Regions from separate parts of the Homo sapiens genome. Here all the other regions are linked to region 2. Evidence: promoter capture Hi-C in 16 types of primary human blood cells and fetal thymus (Javierre and others, 2016). All regions are on one chromosome and are shown on one strand. Each heading gives the region's core, a stretch centred on a gene start or on the middle of the fragment in contact. The rest is flanking DNA. Distances are from core to core; before and after follow the strand shown. Region 1 holds the start of TMPO (thymopoietin). Region 2 holds the start of ZFC3H1 (zinc finger C3H1-type containing). Region 3 overlaps FGD6 (FYVE, RhoGEF and PH domain containing 6).

What was found. Contacts are between HindIII fragments. The CHiCAGO score rates a contact against its expected background, and 5 or more counts as called.
Region 1: a contact is called between the fragment with the promoter of TMPO here and the fragment with the promoter of ZFC3H1 in region 2, in 3 of 17 cell types (activated CD4 T cells, fetal thymus and naive CD4 T cells). The highest score is 14.0, in activated CD4 T cells.
Region 3: a contact is called between a fragment that was not itself captured here and the fragment with the promoter of ZFC3H1 in region 2, in 1 of 17 cell types (total CD4 T cells). The highest score is 6.6, in total CD4 T cells.

The regions. Positions count from the first base shown.
Region 1 is chr12:98,514,193-98,516,892 of GRCh38, reverse strand. It overlaps TMPO (thymopoietin), which reads right to left and starts at 1,303. Exons shown (of 9, transcript NM_001032283.3): 1 at 747-1,303. The coding sequence starts at 1,025. It overlaps TMPO-AS1 (TMPO antisense RNA 1), which reads left to right and starts at 667. Exons shown (of 2, transcript NR_027157.1): 1 at 667-902; 2 at 996-2,700. RefSeq lists a silencer at 544-813 and enhancers at 1,154-1,343, 1,604-1,683. The HindIII fragment of the contact is 4,246 bases long and covers 1-2,700 here.
Region 2 is chr12:71,662,506-71,665,205 of GRCh38, reverse strand. It overlaps ZFC3H1 (zinc finger C3H1-type containing), which reads left to right and starts at 1,358. Exons shown (of 35, transcript NM_144982.5): 1 at 1,358-2,193. The coding sequence starts at 1,596. It overlaps THAP2 (THAP domain containing 2), which reads right to left and starts at 905. Exons shown (of 3, transcript NM_031435.4): 1 at 626-905. The coding sequence starts at 696. RefSeq lists enhancers at 896-1,255, 705-1,263, 1,616-1,735. The HindIII fragment of the contact is 1,665 bases long and covers 756-2,420 here.
Region 3 is chr12:95,214,260-95,217,359 of GRCh38, reverse strand. FGD6 (FYVE, RhoGEF and PH domain containing 6) reads left to right here. Exons shown (of 21, transcript NM_018351.4): 1 at 1-135. The coding sequence starts at 120. Among named protein-coding and RNA genes, the nearest start is that of FGD6, 1.7 kb to the left of the region's middle. RefSeq lists a silencer at 1-34 and an enhancer at 1-229. The HindIII fragment of the contact is 1,076 bases long and covers 1,041-2,116 here.

The DNA.
Region 1 (2,700 bases), core at 54-2,553, about 27 Mb before region 2:
GGTTGCGGTGAGCCGAGATCTCGCCATTGCACTCCAGCCTGGGCAACAAGTGCGACACTCCATCTAAAAAAATAAATAAATAAAAACTAAAAAATTATAATAGGCGCCTAAAAATATAGTTTAAAATGCTCCTTTTAATTCGGCATGAACCTGTTCCGCCAAAAGATGGCCTGTTGCTGGGAAAAATTAAAACAAACTAGAAAACATAAACGGTTCAAAAAGCCCTCCACACGCAAAAGTATAAAAAGGCGGGAATTTCCTCATTTCAAATTTTGGTTAGAAATTAGAGTGTCATCAGTTGCCCTCCAGGGAGCGCTCTGAGACTCTGCTGCGAGTCATTTCAGTTAATAAAGCGGGAAAACGCTCGAACTTAACCTATAGCATTTTGGGGCCACCCCTCCAGAGCTTTCGAAAGGGCACGGAAGTCCCCGTCTAAACGCCCGCTGCAGGCGGCTGGTGGTCCAGGGAAGCGGCGTCGACTGCGTGCAAAACAACCGCCGCCAACGCAACTCCACACCTCCCAGACCCACACGTCAAAGAACGCGAACCCCGCGGCCCCAACTTCTGGCCTCTCCGCTCCGGCGCCTGCAGCCCCGCGGGGAAGGGGCGACGCGAGGGGGCGCAGGGACAGCCCCGCACCTGGGAGGCCCGAGGGGGCGCCCGGGAGGGAGGGGCTGCAAACGGCGGCGAGCGCGCGCGGCAACCGCCAAACGCCCGCCTTTGTAGCCCCGGCCCCGCGTCCTTACCCTGCCGACGGCTGCTCGGCTCCGGCCCGCGGCGGCGGCCCCAGAGCCGAGGACCGGGGTGGGCTCGCGCTCTTCGTCACTGGAGAAGTCCGGGGGCCCCTTGCTGTTGGTGCCGGCGGGGAGCGGCGGCCGGTTGCGAGCCGTGAGGTGCTGCAGGTAGAGCTGGACGTACACGTCTTTGCGCTGCTCCCCGGCCGGCAGCGTCACATTGTTGGCGACCAACTCACTCTTCAACTTGTCTTTTGTCAGGACCGAGGGGTCTTCCAGGAACTCCGGCATCTCGGGGATCTGCGAAGCCCCCTCCCCACAGCCTTTGCCGCCGCCGCTCACGCCGGCGCGCTTGCTCCTGGCCGGGGACCGCGCTGCCGCCTCCGAGCCTCACGGCTCCTGCCCGGGAAGAGCGCTGCGGAGCGGAACAAAAACTCGCGGACACAAAGCCAAGCCAGACCCGGACACAAAAGACCCCAGAGCCGAACTACGAACCAACTGCGGCCAAGCTGGAAGCTCGCACCAACCCCAGCCCACACACTACAGGCAGGAGGCGAGCAGCCTGCTTCGCCCACGCCCCAAGAACGCGCGCCGCCATTGGCGGGCGACGGGAGGAAGCGCGGCGGTGATTGGCGAGACGGCTCGCGCGGGTTCCATTAGCCGCCGCGCTGAGCGAGAGGAGGTAGAAACGCAGTTTAAAAGGCGCTGGGGCGGGAGCCGAGGCTCCCGGCCCGCTTCTGTTTTCGTTTTCTCCACCCTTCCCCTTAGACGCCGATAAGGGACAGGTCGTACTGCTTTTGTGCGCCGTTTCCTCTCCCTCCCCCAGCTTGAGAAGCAGCTTTCGTCTCTGGGGTCGATCGCCTACGAACGCGCCGAATTCCACGCCAGTGTGAGGACCCTTGGCTGGGCCTTTCTTCCTCCCGGGACACTGAAGCTCCAAGAGTAGCCGCAGCCTTGCCTTCCCCAAACGCTAGCCCTGAAGGGGAAGAAAAGAAGCGAGGCTTGTCTGCAGGCACTCATATTCCTTGATTTGATTTACTTTGGGAGGGGGAGGGCGGGGAGTTACCCCTCTCCTCGCGAACGCTTCTTTTGTTCCAGAAACCCAGGGGAAGCCAGACCTCTACAATCGGGCACTTAAATTACCCTTGAATTTGTGACAAAAGTGTACTATACCATTCACTTCTTAGTGTCATAGTTGGGGCATGTCTAAATTGTTTAATTTGAACAGTGCGTTCAGACGCAAGACAAATTCGCGCTTGCATTTTTGTTGAAACCGTCTCTGGCTTTGGATCCCACCACCCGCAAGAATCCTAAACCTAACGTTTGATAACAAAACGAAGGAGAACCCTTGGGAACCCCCTCAATGGTCAATTTAAAATAACAGATGGTGCATAATCCTAAAGGAAGACTAGTGACCTATAATTAGGCCTAGAACCCTAATCAAACCCGTATTACCGATCCAAATTAAAACCTGGTAGAATCTAATACATTGACTGCAATTAAAATGTTTGCCTGGAAATTAGTATCACTGATGACAAATATTTGTATTTCTGATGAATATGTATGTTTAAAGATGCTTTCTTTCTAGAAAGGAAAGGAGACCTTGGATGTAGGGTGTGTTAATCATTTCCCCAGAATCTGAGCTCCAAACTATGTTTTAGAAACTGGTTAAATTTTTTTTAAATGTTTGCCTGCTTTCTACATTGCTAGGTTAGAATACATTTAAAACAAACGCCTTCACTAAAAATGTTTCCTATGATTTAAGCGACTTACTTTTATTCAAATTGCGATATTATTTCTTTTAGTGATAATTATTTTCCTAGAGGTAACTAATTCCTTTATAAAAATCTCAGTATTCACATACATTTAAGCAATGGTATTAAGCTCAATAATGCAAATTAAAAATCAGGTTTTAATTAGCAAGTTGTTAGGTAGGTTTTTATGATCCCTTGTAAAAGTTGCTTGG
Region 2 (2,700 bases), core at 109-2,608:
TGCTTTCAAGAGTTCTGGTTTGACAGAACTAAAGAATTTTGATTTTTCTTCCAGCAAACAAAAGAAAACCTAGGTTCTTTTTATTACTCTATTCTAGTAAGAACAGAAAGGTTATCTTTTGCACTTTAATTAACATCGCTTAATTCCATGGCTATCAAAGATGACTCAATTCCTCCGCAGAATTACTATGTGACTATTAGAAATCTAAATGCCTCCCATGTCAATTCATCTAGTGAGAATTTCCTAATTTTAACGGGAACACAGCAGGCTTTTACGGTGATTGCTGATTGGGAAGATCTCTTTCTCCCTTACGGCGTCATTCATGTCAAGGCCCGGTCTAACAGAGGAATAAAACAGTAGAAAATTACGATATCCTCCTGTTACTTTTTTTTACTAAGGGGTAATGACCAAACAGTACTTGGATTTCTTTTAGAAAATGAGTAAAGCTTCCCCGAAAGCAGAGAACAATTGGGCAGATTTGAGAAACACAAAGGACATACGATGCTTCCCTGCTACCAGCTGGGAAAGTTATTAGAATTAGCAGAATCCTCCTGTTCCTTCCACACAAGCGATAGCCACAATAGGAACTCCAGTTTCCGTCACCCCCACTCCCTGCCCAGGTTACCTGTGGAAGCTGATGTTAATGTGCTTGTTGTAGGTAGTGGCACAGCCCGCCGCAGCGCAATTGGTCGGCATTTCCCTTTCCCACTCATTCAGCGCCCTTAGGTCTCTACTGAGGCGCTGGCTGCTAAGCTTTCTTCTGGCAGAGGCTGGACAATCGAGGCAGGCGTGCCTTAATCGTGAGAGCTTAGTCGTGAGAGCGGAGTGGGAAGAAGGGGTGTGTATGTGGGGGCGGAGGCGAAGGACGGTCAGCCTTCCCTTTCTCTTTATTAATATGGCCGACTAGAGCCCACAGAACTGGCCCTCCTGGAGCTCTAGTCGCCTTCGCTTGACTTCACCAACATGGCGGACACAACCCGTTCTTTCTCCCCGCCCCCAAGAGGGAGCGGATCTACTGCGTTTCTTTGGCAGCGGTCCTCAGAGCAATTAAAAGGAAGAGGTGTTTTCCCCTCCGATTACTATAAATTACAAGAGTTTTACAATAAAACTCTCTCAAGGCTGCAACAGCAGCTCCACCTACTTCTGCATGCACCCAACTGTACCAAGCCAGACCCTGCGGTGGGTGTGACCCTAGGACCGGAAGAGTAAACCCGAAGAAAGACGAAAGACTACAAATCCTAGTGAGTATCGAGTTGGTCTTATTATCGCGTGAACTGGGAGCCTTTGTTTCCTGCGTGTCGCAGGAAGTGACGTTTCGGGTACAGCCGCTACCAGAGTCCCTTTCTCGCGAGGCGGAAGAACCCCGATCGCTGAGGAGCAAGGGGGCGCTAGGAAAGGGAACTGGGTTGCGACGGTCCGGCGAGAGAGAGCTGGGGTGCTGGGGTGCGGGGAAGTTGGGGAGCAGAGGCCGCTTGGTGTCCGAGTAGGGTAAGACCGCACCGACCCAGTCCGTTAGGAAAGAAGGGAAACGAGGCAATTGTCGGGCGGATCCCCGGACGGAGGGCTAAGGTTGTGTGGAAGGCGCTGCTCCCCGGATGGCGACCGCAGATACTCCGGCCCCGGCCTCCAGTGGCCTCTCGCCGAAGGAAGAAGGGGAGCTTGAAGATGGGGAAATCAGTGACGACGATAATAACAGCCAGATACGGAGTCGGAGCAGCAGCAGCAGCAGCGGCGGCGGGCTGTTACCCTATCCGCGGCGAAGGCCTCCTCACTCGGCCCGGGGCGGTGGATCTGGCGGAGGCGGTGGCTCTTCCTCGTCATCGTCCTCTTCTCAGCAGCAGCTGAGGAATTTCTCACGCTCGCGGCACGCGTCTGAGCGGGGCCACCTCAGGGGACCCAGCAGCTACCGACCCAAAGAACCGTTCCGGTCTCATCCGCCTTCTGTACGGATGCCTTCGAGCTCACTGTCCGAAAGCAGTCCCCGGCCGTCTTTCTGGGAGCGGAGCCACCTCGCCTTGGACCGTTTCCGCTTTCGAGGCAGGCCTTACCGGGGTGGGAGTCGCTGGAGTCGGGGGCGAGGAGTGGGTGAGCGAGGAGGCAAGCCGGGGTGCAGACCTCCTCTGGGAGGAGGAGCAGGATCCGGGTTCAGCAGCAGTCAGAGCTGGCGAGAGCCCTCTCCACCTCGGAAGAGCTGTATCCTTAACGTGGCGGTCGGCGCTGGGTGTGTCACTAAAGTTCCCTTTAGCGTCATTACTAGGTCTGTGAGACGAGTGTAACTTTGAATCATCAGAACCGCTTATTTCTCCCTGTGTCAGTATACTTTAAGTTGTTCTTTGGTAATTCCCCATGTGTCACACTATAGCGTTATTCTTAAGACTGCTTCATTGGGTATATTAACGTGCTGTGGATTGGGTTAAGCTTATGAAATCTAAGACAGTTAAGTCTGATTTGTAATAATACCTTAGAAGCCCAAGTTTCATTAGCATTTGTATTTTTGCTGGTACAGAAACTTTGTGTTTTATATGAAGTTGACTTGGATTGTTAGAGAAAAAATATTCATAAACAGTTTAAGTAATATTGTTGCTTTATCATATTGCAGTTTGACGTTGAAAATTGTAAAGTTTTAATCTGCACAGTCCTGCACTATTTTTGTGATTCTGTTTTTATCTTGATTTATTCCGGTTGCTGCCTTTTAAAGTG
Region 3 (3,100 bases), core at 329-2,828, about 24 Mb before region 2:
GGGACGGAATGTGGGCGCTGCGGGGGCTTTTCTCTCCTACCCGAACTGTGGGAACAATGGACTGAAAGGGGAAGATGGATTGAGGGGCCGAGCGGGGAAGCGAGCTGCACCGGGGAATCATGACTTCTGCAGCCGGTAAGTGACGGCGCTCGCGCTGCCGCGGGAAAGTTTGTGGCGAGCGCTGCTAGGCTTGGGCTCGCGAGCAACTTTCTTCGCCGGGGTGGGCGAGTTGTGTGCCCCGTACCTTTGCCGAGCACCTCGGCAAGCGCGGAGCTAATGGGATTCGCTGCCGGCTTTCTCGTCTTTTCCTGCCCAGAGGGGCTGTTTGGAAACCCGGGATTTCTCGGGATCTCCCTTCCAAGGGGGACTGTGCTGGGGGCTCTGCACCAGGTGAAATGCGATGTGTGAAGGGCGTTCGCTCATCTCTCCAGCAGTGCGAGGACTTCGCCTTTGCATGTGAAAATAGTGTAGATTCCCAAGTTAATAGATCAGTTATTATAGGTAAAGGCAGTGTTCTCAGCGTGTTCAATTTGGCCACTAAGTGAGTCGCTTTCAACCTTGTATCTGCTGGTAAACCTTTTACCCATTTTAAAGAGGCGTAGACATTGTCATGTCCTGGTGGTTTTACCTCTGTTACCTGAGAAGCAGAGGAGTTGAGATTGTTGAGGTTTTTTTTTTTTTTTTTTTTTTGCTTGTCTGCACCCAATTACAATTATTTTGTTTGTTTCTACCTGATTAGGGTAAACAAAGCTTTATTTTCTGTCTGCCTCCCATAGTTCTTTCCCCTTCATCCAAATGACAAAGCCTCTATCTTTGTGTGGATTTTCAGCAATTCTAGACGTTGTGTTTCTGAACATTCTTAAGGAACAATTTCTGTTTTACAAAATAATTACCAAAGTGGTGTTACGTTCACTTCGTAAGTACATAGGTTAATTTTTAAACCAGAACTTATGTATTAAGTAGAGTGTTATGGGTTATTTTACGTTTTTGTCCACGTTGAAACTTTCATTAGAAATTTTATAGTGAAATAGTTTAAAGCTTCTTCTCAAGGTTACTTCCAGAATCAGCACTTAAGTATCAGATTAAATTTTCATTGCTTTTCTTGGCATTTGTTTAAAATTCTTGCAACTTGAAACTGTCCAACAGCACTCAAATGTTCTGATTTGTATTATTTCTAAAGCCTAGATATATTGTAGTGTTGCATTGCTCCCTGTGATCAGATTACAACAAACGAAACAAGAAGTTAGCCAATAGGAAAAGAAAGCAAGAAGTGGGTGTTGTGTGGGTCTTTCCTTTTTGATGTTATATGCACTTATATGAGATATCTTTATAAACTCTCTTTTCTTTGCCAAAGGGAGGCTTTATACTTACATAAGGTAAATTATTTTCATCCTACATTTCTGTGCCTTACCTTCGTTCAAGAAATTGATTTAAATTAAAAGTGGTTGGAAATTTTAAAATCCTTCCAGCCAGTTTTAGCTCTTTCCTTTTTGGAGGTGTCAAATGTATTTAAAATAACCGTGTCTTATATGTATCAGTTTTCAATTCCAGTCTTAACAGTTTATAAGGAACAGGCACAGAAGCATGTAATTTCACATTTATGTAAACCCAATTTCTAGGGCCCAGACTGGAAGTTCATGATTCTTGCATTTGAATTATCCTAAAATAATGCAAGCTATTTTTGTATTTTATCAACTTTACAATTAAAGAAATCCACAGAAATTTTTGTGGTGTTTAAAGTGGGACACTTCCTGTGTCTAGCCGAGTTGGTTGGTTTTTAGCATTGCTGGCTGAGAAGCATCAACTACTTTTTTGCTCACCCATCTGTTGGATTTATCATAATTCTTTCTGGTGTCTAGATGGGGAATATGGAAGAGAACTGGGGTTTTATTTCTACCCATTCTTATATGTATACATAGTTCTTACAAGCTGATTATGGTGCTTTTTGGGAACAATAGTCAAATTCATTGAAACGTTTAGGAAAGTTACTTGAAGTTAAGGGAGGGGATTTTTGCTTTTGAATCTAATCTGTGGTATTTGGAAGGGTTGGTTTAATTTAAGAAAATAAAAGGAATGTTGTAGAACATCTAGGTTATATGTATCCAGCAGAAAAGCTTGCTTTGTTTTTCTACATCTATAAAATAATCTGCCCTTAGTGGAGATTTCAGAATTATTTTAAGCTGTATATGAAAAAGGAGAGGCTGGGCGCAGTGGCTCAAGCCTGTAATTCCATCACTTTGGGAGGCCAAGGCGGGTGGATCACTTGAGGTCAGGAGTTTGAGACCAGCCTGGCCAACATGGCAAAACCCTGTCTCTACTAAAAATACAAAAATTAGCCAGGTGTGGTGGGGTGCGCCTGTAGTCCCAGCTATTCGGGAGGCTGATATGAAAATTGCTTGAGCCAGCGAGGCGGAGGTTGTGGTGAGCCGAGATCGAGCCACTGCACTCTAGCCTGGGTGACAGAGCAAGACTCCATCTCAAAAAAAAAAAAAAAAAAAGAAAAAAGGAGAGAGAATTATAGGTATATATAGGTATATATTTTGTGTCCTTTTGAACATGTACAGGTCACTGTCTTCATTGTCTGTGCTTTGCGTTTTGGCTGGTCCAGTAGCCAGAGAGTGTACACGTGAACCACAGCCATCTGTGTGTAACAGATGACGAGTATGTTTGTAATAGTTAGTAAAATGGTACTAGTGCTTTACTTTCTTACCTTATATTTCCCTGGAGCCAAACAGCTGTGTAAATAAAAGATTTGCTGCTTTGCTCTAAGAAGCTTTGGGTCTGACTGTTGATGCAGTATTAAGATCCAAAGGTGCTAGATTTATTGCCAAATGTCATGCACTTATTTCACATTGGAGTAGACCATAATATAATGGCTTATTATTTTTTGAGTTGTGTTTCTTCCAAAATAGAGCCATGAAAAAAAAATAATGAAGGATTTTGGATATTGCTCTACCAGTGACTTAGTTGAACACTTGTTCCTATTAATAATTAAGGAATTTTTCAATAATCGTATTGAAATTGATTCCTGCTAACTTTTCAAAATATTATTCTACATTAAAATGGATGTACATTTTTGAATGTGATTATTTTTAAAGAA